Regions from separate parts of the Homo sapiens genome. Here regions 1 and 2 are each linked to region 3. The links are contacts of gene promoters, found by promoter capture Hi-C in human tissues and cell types (Jung and others, 2019). All regions are on one chromosome and are shown on one strand. The core of a region is centred on a gene start or on the middle of the fragment in contact, and the rest is flanking DNA. Distances in the headings are between cores, read along the strand shown. Region 1 overlaps CSTPP1 (centriolar satellite-associated tubulin polyglutamylase complex regulator 1). Region 2 holds the start of AMBRA1 (autophagy and beclin 1 regulator 1). Region 3 holds the start of CKAP5 (cytoskeleton associated protein 5).

Evidence for each region. The method cuts DNA at HindIII sites, captures the fragments that hold promoters and counts their contacts. A contact is called where the count stands out against the background at its distance.
Region 1: a contact is called between a fragment that was not itself captured here and the fragment with the promoter of CKAP5 in region 3, in 1 of the 25 tissues and cell types used here (mesenchymal stem cells).
Region 2: a contact is called between the fragment with the promoter of AMBRA1 here and the fragment with the promoter of CKAP5 in region 3, in 1 of the 25 tissues and cell types used here (liver).

Annotation. Positions count from the first base shown.
Region 1 is chr11:46,999,999-47,003,981 of GRCh38, reverse strand. The region is part of intron 2 of CSTPP1 (centriolar satellite-associated tubulin polyglutamylase complex regulator 1); the gene reads right to left. It overlaps LOC124902670 (a long non-coding RNA gene), which reads right to left. Exons shown (of 2, transcript XR_007062665.1): 1 at 1-3,983. Among named protein-coding and RNA genes, the nearest start is that of CSTPP1, 65 kb to the right of the region's middle. The HindIII fragment of the contact is 3,670 bases long and covers 1-3,618 here.
Region 2 is chr11:46,592,386-46,596,055 of GRCh38, reverse strand. AMBRA1 (autophagy and beclin 1 regulator 1) reads left to right here and starts at 2,033. Exons shown (of 18, transcript NM_001387011.1): 1 at 2,033-2,228. RefSeq lists enhancers at 1,849-2,278, 1,781-2,281. The HindIII fragment of the contact is 25,136 bases long and covers 1-3,670 here.
Region 3 is chr11:46,844,970-46,848,810 of GRCh38, reverse strand. CKAP5 (cytoskeleton associated protein 5) reads left to right here and starts at 2,531. Exons shown (of 44, transcript NM_001008938.4): 1 at 2,531-2,591. It overlaps LRP4-AS1 (LRP4 antisense RNA 1), which reads right to left and starts at 2,400. Exons shown (of 3, transcript NR_038909.1): 1 at 2,312-2,400; 2 at 2,094-2,201. RefSeq lists enhancers at 2,137-2,256, 2,711-3,288 and silencers at 2,467-2,546, 2,727-2,876. The HindIII fragment of the contact is 16,643 bases long and covers 1-3,841 here.

The DNA.
Region 1 (3,983 bases), core at 534-3,033, 160 kb before region 3:
ATAGCCAGACATCTTGCATGTGTAATTTCATGTGATTTGCATAACAACCCTAGAAGATAGGTATTATCATCCCTAGCAATAATCTAGACCTAGAAAATTACAATACAATGACATCAACAAAGACATTTGTTGTTGATATTATTTAATGACAAAGGGATGATTTCAAGTCTGCTTCTACGGCCACCCAGGAAACAATGCTTTTCCCAAACATCTCTCATTGTAGTATTATCTATTGTTGCAGCCCCAGAACTCAGCAATACTAGAACTGTGACCTAGAAGAAATGTACACATTTGTGCCACTTTCTGATAAGACAGTTTCTGCAGTGCTGGTAGCATTGCATCTGATAGTTGAAGAAGGGAATCACAATTATGTCCTCAGACAAGAAATTGGTTAGATATGACCCCTCCTGAAGGATCCTGAGAGACAATTTGTTTTTTGGAGAAGTCACTGACTATAATGATGCACCTGCAAGGGGGCCGGGAGCTGAGAGACAGACAAACATCTTAGCAAATTCTAAAAGCAGAGTGAAGCTTCATTTGACTTTCATTTCACTTTTCTCAGGGAAGAAGAACCTTTGTGTTACTGCCAAAATCCTAACTGTCCTTCCTTCCTCTCTGTCCCCTCCACCCCCACGCCAGCTCATTAAAGATCTTCTGGTTAAAGGTGCCAAATTGTGTCATTCTTTCCTACTCCAGTGCCAAGCCTGTGCCAATGGCACCACAGATTGATCTGCTAGAGTTCTGAGCAAATTATGGAAGAAATTAAAAGCACTGAAAATTTTAAATTGTTCTGTTGCTGGTGAAGTAAAGCTTTTTAAACTTCTTATTCTTCTTGTAGAGACAGGGGTCTCATTGTGTTGCCCAGGATGGCCTCAAACTCCTGGCCTCAAGTGATTTTCCCACCTTGGCTTCCCAAAGTGCTGGGATTATAGGTGTGAGCCTATAATCTGGCCTAGTTTCTTAACTTTTGATGACTGACTTTACATTGCTAATGGCATAACACTTGTTAATTAAGACTCGTGTGAGTGTACTTGATTGCCAGACAAGTATTCAGGGAATTATCAGAGTGGTGGTGTGAAGGAATATCAGGGCTTGGACCAAATAAAGATCCTTCATATTATTTATAGATTGAAATAAATCAAGTTATTTATCTAAGGGGAGATATTTTAATGTAAAAAATCAGACCTAAATTTTATACTAGCTAGCTGCAAAAGCAGCTCCCATGAAAACAGAAATAGTATCATTGGGGCTTGAGAACACTTCAGCCAAGGATGGTGTTTCTTCATTTCCTCTTATTGAATGGTTTTATAACAGATAAGTTTCTCTTAACTTGTAGAAGGCAGGGGGTGGGGTGGGGGGAACAAGGTCTTTCCTGACAGGGAGAATCTGGGCCCAATTATTACTTCTGTAACCTTTGACTCTGACTTCTAAACGAGTCAAGGGACCAGTGGGCTGTGAAATAGCTTCCTCCATTACCAGGTCAAGTGCTGCTGGATAGTTTCCTGTAACCATAATACAAAGGGACTGAAGAAGTGAGATGGATTCTACAAAAACAGGCAACTTCTTGCATCCTCAATGACCCTGGATTTTTAAGTTTCAAAACAGATTTTGACTCTTAACTCACCACCATGGCTCCCTGTAGTCTTTTTGCTATAGCATACCTCTAGTAATACAGAAAAGAGCCAGAAAGAATCCTCTATAGATTTGGTTCTATGATGGTCTAACAGAGGTGCCTGGCCTAGTAACAGTGGGGATAGGGTTGCTTTAACTGAAGGCAAATCTCTTCCTGACAATTATCTGAGTCTGTGGGAAACCAGATGCTGACAATGAGAAACGGGTAATTTTCTGTTACAATGTTTAACAGCTAAGAACTGAACTATGGAAAAAAGTCAGGGGAGGGGGTGGGTAAAGGGGGAAGCATTACCCCTTTTGAAGAAGTCTATAATAGGATTAGTCACCATTACTTTACCACACCACATTTTGGCTCAATTTAACGTAAATAAGTAGAGAAAACATGAGCAGAAATGGCCCAAAGAAGTCTCAAGTCCATCTCTCATTCAGAGCTACAAGCTGGAAATCAGCGAAGTCTTGGTTTGTTCTGATGTGCTTCTTGTTGCCTCACACCTGCTCCTCTGTTACCATGGACACAAGAAGAACCCCAAACAACATTATTTAAACTCTAGATGGTGAATGATCCTTAAAAAATCTGTCACCTTTAGAATGAATGTTTATGCCCTGATTGTTATAGATTATGTAGGAAAGAAGTGGGTCATCTTTTCATAGGGCTTAAAGCACCTGTCTGAAAAAAAAAATAACAAGAAATGATACATATTTTATAATCATGGATTGTTTTCATTAGAGTTACGTTTTAAGTTATTTAGGAATATGCACTATTACCTATGTAACAAACCTGCACGTTCTACACATGTATCCCAGAACTTAAAGTAAAAGAAAAGAAAAAAGAAAAAAAAAACGGGTATGCACTATTGGAATCTCTTTTTTTCTCCAAGGATGAATTAATGAAGTTCATATTTTATGGATTTATTTGAATCAAAATTAATTCTGATGATTAACATGTATCAAAATGAAATTATTAATGCTCCTTTTCTAAAAACTGACAAAGATTTCCATCTCCATATTTATACTATGTAGTGTAGAACACAAATACTTTTGATGATGAATTATTTTATTTACTTTCACTGGTTAAATAGGAGCAGAGCATGAGGGAGGCCAGTTACCCATGAGGGGGTCCTAAGAACACTGCCTAGTAAGGGTACTCCATTCTCAGTAGCAACAAATAAAATCAATCAAATGATCATTTTTGGACACAGGAAGCTTACTTAGATAATCAAGGTGGACAAAGAAAAGGTGCATCACCCTCTGAGCTAAGTTATTGGCTCTCTGATGGGATGAGCTCTCAATCGTCATCTCTTCCAAGAGGACTTCCCTGTCCATACTATATATTACCTTACTCTGGCTGTTTTCTTGTTATTTGTCTTGTTACAGTTACCAGCTATGTAACCATGAGAATGTTACTTTTATAGCCTGAATTTCCTTATGAGTAAAATGAGGATAATACTAATACCCTGTTTATATAGAACTGTGAAGATTAAATAAAATAATGGATATTATATGCTTAGAACAGTGCCTAGCACACAGTGCTTATTAACTATTAGCTATTCTCATCCCCATCAGTTTGCTTGTTTATTGATTATTACCCTCATTAAAACACTAGGTTCATAAAGATAGGTACCTTATTTGTCTTGCTCACTGCTCTATTCCCATTGCATAGTACACACAGGCACAGAGTAGGTGCCCAAAAGTAATTTGTGAATGAATAATTCACAAATGAATGCTGCATATTCTCACGTATCCTTAAAATAAACCAAAGGTAGTCTGTGTACTTCTTTCCCTTGCAACCAAAACAGTCATCATAAAAACTTCACCAAAAAACTAAAATCATCCTTTAAAAAACGAAAACAAGACACTTGATCATAAAAGCGAGCTCTCCTGGGCCCACCAACCAAGACCACAGAATATTATTCTTTTCTATATTAGTATGTGGAAGTCAAGCTCCCTGATGCCATAGTGTTGGAACTATCAATTTAGCCTGTGAAGAATGGTTCCCAATTCTGATACAAATTCTCAGATTTCATCCTGTTTTTCTCTCATCATTATTTTCCAATGTCTCAAAAAGCCACATTTCTCATTTTATCTTTACCACAAGAATCTGGTCACACTCTGCTGTGGTTTCTAAGTTAGAGCTACTCTCGCCCATTTTCTTGGATGTATTTCTTCAGAGGTCCTGACCCAGTGCTGACATTTGGCCTATTCTTAGAGTAGCACCTCTAAATATTAATTTCTTTTACCTTCCACTGGTTGAAGGACAACATTCAGAGGTAGAGGTTACATACAACATAAAAGAAAATCCTCTGGGATTTAGTATCCGTCTTTCAAGAGTGTCCAGAGGAATATGATCTACA
Region 2 (3,670 bases), core at 784-3,283, 250 kb after region 3:
AGATCGCTCCACTGCACTCCAGCCTGGGCGACAGAGCGAGAGTCCGTCTCAAAAAACAAAGAAACAAAAACAATGTAGTTATCTGAGTAAAATTTGAATGAGGGCTATAGCTATGCTCCACAAGCCTCTCCAAGAAGGAGAGTTTTCTTTCTTTCTTTTTTTTTTTTTTTGTAGTCCCGAGTAGCTGGGACTACAGGCTCCTGCCACCACGCTTGGCTAATTTTTTGTATTTTTAGTAGAGACGGGGTTCACCGCATTAGCCAGGATGGTCTCAATCTCCTGACCTCATGAACCGCCCGCCTCGGCCTCCCAAAGTGCTGGGATTACAGGCGTGAGCCACCGCGCCCGGCCTGGGCAGTATTTTCAAAGACTTAGAGGAGATTTTTGTAAAGTGCCAATACATTATTTAAAAAAGGCTAATACTGTAAGGATGTGCTCTTTGAGTTTAATTAAAGTCTTCAAAGGCTGGGACTTTTTTTTTTTTTTTTTTTTTTTTTTTTTTTTTTTTTTTTTTTTTTTTAGACGGAGTCTTGCTGTGTCGCCCAGGCTGGAGTGCAGTGGCACGATCTCTGCTCACTGCAACCTCCGCCTCCTGGGTTCAAGCGATTCTCCTGCCTCAGCCTCCCGAAAAGCTGGGATAACAGGCACCCGCCACCACGACCGGCTAATTTTTGTATTTTTAGTAGAGACGGGGTTTCACCATCTTGACCAGGCTGGTCTCAAACTCCTGACCTCGTGATCCACCTGCCTCGGCCTCCCAAAGTCCTGGGCTTACAGGCGTGAGCCACTGCGCCCGGCATTTAAAAAAAAAAAAATTTAAGATAGGGTCTTGCTCCATAGATCAGGCTGGAGTGCAATGGTGTGATCATGGCTCATCGCAGCCTCCACCTCCCGGGCTCAGGATATCCTTTCATCTTAGCTTCCCGAGTAGCTGGGCCTACAGGCGGGAGCCACCAGGCCCGGCTAACTTTTTGTATTTATTTATTTTTTTTTTATAGAGACTGGAGTCTCACCATGTTGCCCAGGCTGGTCTTGAACTCCAGGGCTCAAAGCAATCCACCAGCCTCGTCTCCTAAAGTGCTGGAATTATGGACGTGAGCCGCTGCGCCCGACAAACTGGGACTATCTTGTTTCCTTTTTACACCCTTCCTCTCTGAGTAGTGGGGAAGGGTGTAAACCTCCCTAGGAGCAGGTAAGGTAGACTATGATTGCTCACAATTGGTAACCATACTTGCAGTGATCTTTGTGATTTATTGAATCACATCTAGGATGTACATATTAATCCATATTTGTGCTGAGCATATTCATTTATCAACTAAGAGACTACAGAAAAAAGCCATTGTTGTGGTGATGAAAATGTCAACACTTTATCAGGTTCTGAACCCAAAGAGACTTTTGCTTATTATGTAAGAAGCACACCTGTGGCTCTAGGCCTTTGGAAGAAAATAAAAGAGAAAAGCAATCCGTGTGCTTTTTTTCCCCCTGCCTTAAGGTCAGGCTACATAATTCTGGGTTTTCCCAGCTTCTCTTGGTCATGCTTTGTGGGGACTAAACTGGAGCTTTTACGTAGACTGTTCATTTTGTTCCTCAGCTTGAATTCTCTCTCGTTTTCTGTCTCTATGATTTTTAATTCCCCTCACTGCTCTGTTAGGAAACTAAGGGTCAAATGAGGTTAACTAATTTGCTCAATTGGGATAAAGAGTGTTGGGAGTCCATAGAACAGTTGGGGGACTATAGTTACACAACAAGTGTTATTGCGCTATGATTTGATCTTCAACACATTCACGAGAAACTCCAGTTCTCTAAAGAACTTTAACAGCCGGCGACCCACAGAAAATGGCAGAAGTGCAGGCTCTTTTTTAACCCGTGGCTTATGATCTGGGTTTGTTTATTTACGCCTCAGACAGGAGCCGGACCTTGAGTAGGAGTTGAGCTGTTTTTCGGCGCTCGGCTGTGGTTCCTTGAACGATTGCTTGGGCGTTCCTCCTTTGATGTCTGGGGCGTTCTTGTATTCGGTGATCTTTTGCGCCGTCTTCTTGCTTGATGTCTCCTGAGCGGCGGCGGCGCCGGGTCGAGGGCTGAGTTGTCCGCGAGGCCCCGCGCTCAAGCCGCCTTCTCCTGCCGGTCGGTAGAACGGACCCCTTCCTTTATTCCTGTCTCCTCTTTCTTTTTCCCTGTGGCTCAGCCCGTTCGCTGGACTGCAAACCGAGCTCCCGTCTGCCTTGCAGGTAGGCCCAGGAGGAGCCTGGGAGGCCCAGCCCGGCATCCTTCCGCCGCGGGGTTGAGAAGACCTTGGCGCCGGCGGGTGGGCAGGCTGGCCGGCCGCCGTGACACTGCCAGAGGAGGGGCTACCGGACTGCGTTGAGGGGCGCGGCCGGAGGGGCAGCCCGGAACCGAGGGAGAAGCCGAAAGGAGGGAGAGTTGCTGGGGCTTCCCGGTGTGGTTCTTTAGGGAGGAGATGTTGGGTCTAGGGCACCCCCAGTGTGTGGCGAAAATGGCTTTCCAGGAACCGATAGAGCTTTGCGCACTTTGACCCTCCTTCCTTTCTCCTTTTCCCCCCACCCCGAAGTCTCCGGGTGTCATGCCTCAATTGCACTGGGGACCCCTACTGAGTCCAGCCTTTGAAGGGACCTTTGAGTAGGTGGAGGCTTATGGAACAAGGCCCTCTGGCTCTTCTGAGCGAAGTGTTATGTTCTCGCCTTTTTCTGGGTGGGTAAACTGAGGCTGATGTCTGGGACGTGACTTCCCCACATATCCCCAACAGATCATTAAATTCACTGTAAGTCACTTTTTGTCGTTTACCAATTCCCTTCCCCCCACTTACCAGTCAAGTTATGAAAACAGTGAGTTATTGTTTGATCGTCTGTGATCCCAATTTTCCTAGGAATATAGACTGTTAGGAATATAGATCCTGTCACAAGAGGCTTCAGAAGTAAAGGAACCATGTGGTTTCTTGGCTGTTTTGCTTTTCAAAGTCTGTATCATTTTAACTAGTGTAGCAATGACAGTTTCTTTTTGTTTCTTGATAACCTTGTTGTCTACTTTGTTTCCTGATAACCTTGTTGTCTACTTTGTTTCCTGATAACCTTGTTGTCTACATTGTTTCCTGGTTGATTTATCCTCCTTCTCCCCAGCCTCTTTGGAAATCTTATAACTATGGTGTTTGTGGTTAGAGGTTAGAGTCTAGTAGAGGATGGTCAAGACTTTGAAGGCAAACGCTTGTCCTGTGAGGGTCTGCTTTCTGGGGAGTATCCAATGGAAACCCAAGGAGTCTGTCTCTCTTTTTTCTTTTTTTTTTTTAAGACAGGCTAGCTCTGTCGCCCAAACTGGAGTGCAGTGGCGCGATCTTGGCTCACTGCAACCTCTGCCTCCCGGGTTCAAGCGATTCCCCTGCCTCAGACTCCCGAGTAGCTGGAAGTACCGGCGCGCGCCACCACACTCGGCTAATTTTTGTATTTGTAGTAAAGACGGGGTTTCATCATGTTGGCCAGGCTGGTCTTGAACTCCTGGCCTCAAGTGATTCGTCCACGTCGGCCTCTCAAAGTGCTGGAATTACAGGCATCCACCGCGCCCGCCCAGTTTTGTTGTATTTGATTAGTAGTTTGGTCACTGCACATACAAAAGCTAAAAAAGGCTGTGTGTAGAAATCATTCAAATATTGAGATATTTA
Region 3 (3,841 bases), core at 1,282-3,781:
TTCTATTGAATGGATATGTCATAATTTATGTAAAAGGTTCCCTGTTGATGAACATGTAATTTCCAGATTTTTTATTTTTTTTAGAGACAGCGTCTCACTCTGTCACGCAGGCTGGAGTACAGTGGCGTGATCATAGCTCACTGCAGCCTTGACCTCCCACACTCCAGCAATCCTCCACCTCAGCCTCCCAAAGCACTGGGATTACAGGCATGAGCCACCATGCCTGGCCTCCAGATTTATTTTTTTATTTTATTTTATTTTTATCTTAAGCAGTGCTGGCTGGGCACAGTGGCTCACAGCTATAATCCCAACAGTTTGGGAGGCCGAGGCGGGTGGATCACTTGAGGTCAGGAGTTCAAGACCAGCCTGGCCAACAGGTGAAACCCCGTCTCTACCAAAAATACAAAAAATTAGCTGGGCTTGGTGGCACATGCCTGTAATCCCAGCCACTTGGGAGGCTGAGATAGGAGAATCGCTTGATCCTGGGAGGTGGAGGTTGCAGTGAGCTGAGATGGTGCCATCGCACTCCAGCCTGGGCGAGAGAGCGAGACTTCATCTCAAAAGAAAAAAAAAGAAAAAAAAAAAAGGGCCGGGCACAGTGGCTCACGCCTGTAATCTCGGCACTTTGGGAGGCTGAGGCAGGTGGATGACCTGAAGTCAGGAGTTTGAAACCAGCTTGACCAACATGGTGAAACCCCATCTCTGTTAAAAATACAATAAAAAATAATTAGCCGGGCGTGGTGGCAGGTGCCTGTAATCCCAGCTACTTGGGAGCCTGAGGCAGGAGAATTGCTTGAACCCGGGAGATGGAGGTTGCAGTGAGCCAAGATCACGCCATTGCACTACAGCCCGGGTGACATGAGAGAGACTCTGTCAGAAAAAAAAAAAAAAAAAGCCGGGTGCAGTGGCTCACGCCTGTAATCCCAGCACTTTGGGAGGCCCAGGCGGGAGGATCACGAGGTCAGCAGATCAAGACCAGCCTGGCTAACACAGTGCAACTCCGTCTCTACTAAAACTACAAAAAATTAGCCAGGTGTGATGGCACGTGCCTGTAGTCCCAGCTACTCAGGAGGCTGAGGCAGGAGAATCGCTTGAACACGGGAGGCGGAGGTTGCAGTGAGCTGAGATTGCGCCACTGCACTCCAGCCTGGGCGACAGAGCGAGACTGTCTCAAAAAAAAAAAAAAAAAAAGCAGTATTGCAGTAAACATCCTTGTACATTTTTCTTTGCATACTTGCACAGATCTGTACGATAAATTCCTCATAGTGGATTACTGGGCCAGAACTAGATTATGTACATTTTAGTAACTGTCAAATTGTCCTCCTAAAGGTTTGTACCAATTATACTCTTACCAATATTGACTTTGAGTGTCCATTTTTCCAAATCTCTTTATATTTTTAAAAACAGAGATGGGGTCTTGATAGCAAGACCCAGGTTGGTCTTGAACTCCTGGCCTCAAGCAATCCTCCTGCCTCGGCCTCCCAAAGCGCTAGGATTACAGGCATAAGCCATTGCACCCAGCCTGTTTTTCCAAATCTTGACCAACCAAAGGCTGTTGAACTTTTTCATCTCTGCCAACTTGACAATGAAAAAACATGTAATTGTTTCATTTACTTTTATCCATCCTCTCTCCATCTTTTAGCCTGTTGGGAATCTACACATTCTTTAAATCCTAGGTTAAAAATTCATCTTCCTCACAGATCCTCCCCCATCAAATTTCTCCTGTCTCTAAGCATTTATAGCTTTTCATTTATACAGTTATTACACTGCTTTGAATTTTAGTGACTAGTCTGTATGTTATATTCCTCCAACCACTGTAGATTACAAATTCCTTGGAAGTAAGGACCTGAACTCATTCACAGAAACACTGAATGTAGAGCTAAGCTAAAATTCTGGAGATCATGTTAACCAAGCCTCTCGTTTTTATAAGGGAATATTAAGCATTTGCAGGATGCGTTACAGTTCACAAAGGCTTTTCTCAGACATTCTATTAGTTATATTAACTCCTCCATTAAATTGTAAGGGAAACATCGTTATCCCATTTTACAGATAAGGAAACAACTCCAGAAGATTTACTGAGAAAAGTGATTTACTCAGAACAGTTCCAAGGTCAGAATCCAGCATCCTGGCTTCATTCGCTGTTACTTCCACGACATCTCAGCTGCCTCTGGTTTCCCTCACAGCACTTAGCTTCACAATCTCTAGGGAATGAAATGACCAAAAAAAATTGTCGGGTGTTGACAGCAGCCTGAACATCTGTAATTAAATAAAGCAAACATGCTGACGACCAAGGATGCCCGGGTCTACACACATTCTTTCGCCTTTCTTTCTGGAGTCGGCAGACTTGCCCCCGGCAGCGACCAGCGTCCCCACCCGTGCAGGCGGCGTCTGGTCCAGAGGGAAACACGGCTGCGCGCGGCCCCTTTAAGGCTGCGGGCGGCGCGTGCCCACAGGCCTTTCAAATGGACCAATAAAAGTCCGATGGGCGGTCCGTCGAGGACCAATAAAGAACGAGGACACTGCGGGGTGTGCGGCGGCCCAAGCGGTTTCAAACGGCTTAGAGCAGGCCGCTTGGTTCTGACCCAGCTGAGGTGAGTGGTCGGTGGGCCTGCCCCACCCGCGAGGCCCTCGAGTGCAGGCATCGCGCGCGCAGAGGAGCCCCTGAATCCTGGGCGGCTGGAGGTCTCCAGACGCGCGCCCCACTTGCCCCACGAACCCGGCAGGTCTGAGGCGGCGAAGCGAGCCGGAGGCCGGGGGACCTGCGGCGGGCAGGGCCGGGGGCGTGGGCGCTCGTGTGCGGCGGAGGCCGGGGTTGGGCTCCAGGTGGCCAGAGCGCGCCGCAGCGTGGCGCGGGTGGCAGCGTCCGCGGGGCGCGGGCGGTGCAGGGCCGCGCCTGGCGGCAGCGATTTACCAAGACTAGGGCGGGGGCCCCGAGAGCCGGCCCTGCTAGAGTGCCTCTCGCGTAATTGTCAAGTGAATGAATAAGTAAGCGCCTACGAGGGCTGTGGTGGTTGCGAAGGGCCTTGTCGCCCTGGAGCAAGGACAGCGGCACCGGGGCCTGGCCGCACACCTGTGTCCCTGCTGGCTTGCTGCGATGTGAACGATTCCGATCATCCACCACCCCGCCCTTAACGACTGGCTTTCTCTCTCTCAACGTGTCGGGAGCGTTCTGGTGTCCTTCCAGCCCTGGAGGTGTTGGGGAACCAATACAATAGCCAGCAGTGTGGGTTGGGCCTTGCTACTTTAAGGTCGGGCTCGGTGAACTAGATTCTTACTTTTGAGCTCTCCCCTCTACTTGTAATCGTGGTAATTGTTGAGCAGGATTGAAATGCATTCCGTTGTGTTTCTTGGATAGAAAATGATGAAAGGGTTGTTGCCAGAGTGGCTAGTGTGTGTTAGAAAATATATTCGTGTTGATGAATCTTAACAATGAGTTTTTTATTCAGCATCAATAGAGGTTGAAGTGGTTTTTGCAGAACTTGCCCCAAATTTATGCGTGGCTCTAATTTAATTCTCATGGGACCAAGGCATCAAATCTTGGCCCAGAAATGCTGCCTGTCTTATGCATAATTATAGTAATTGAAAACTCATTTTTAGAAAGGTGAGCTCCTCCTTCCTCCATTTTCATCACCCTGAAAAGTCCTTCTTTTGACCTAAAGAGCCAATAAATTAAGCTAAGAATCTTTTGAAACTTTAAGAAATTGTAGAAGACTTTGACTTCTCTGAAGTGACTGGACAAACTGTAATGCTTTTACCAAATTTAATGATATAGATAAAGGTGAAATCAATTTATTTTGCAACCATAAGTTAAATCTAGTTGGTAAACTCATGTAAAAAAATT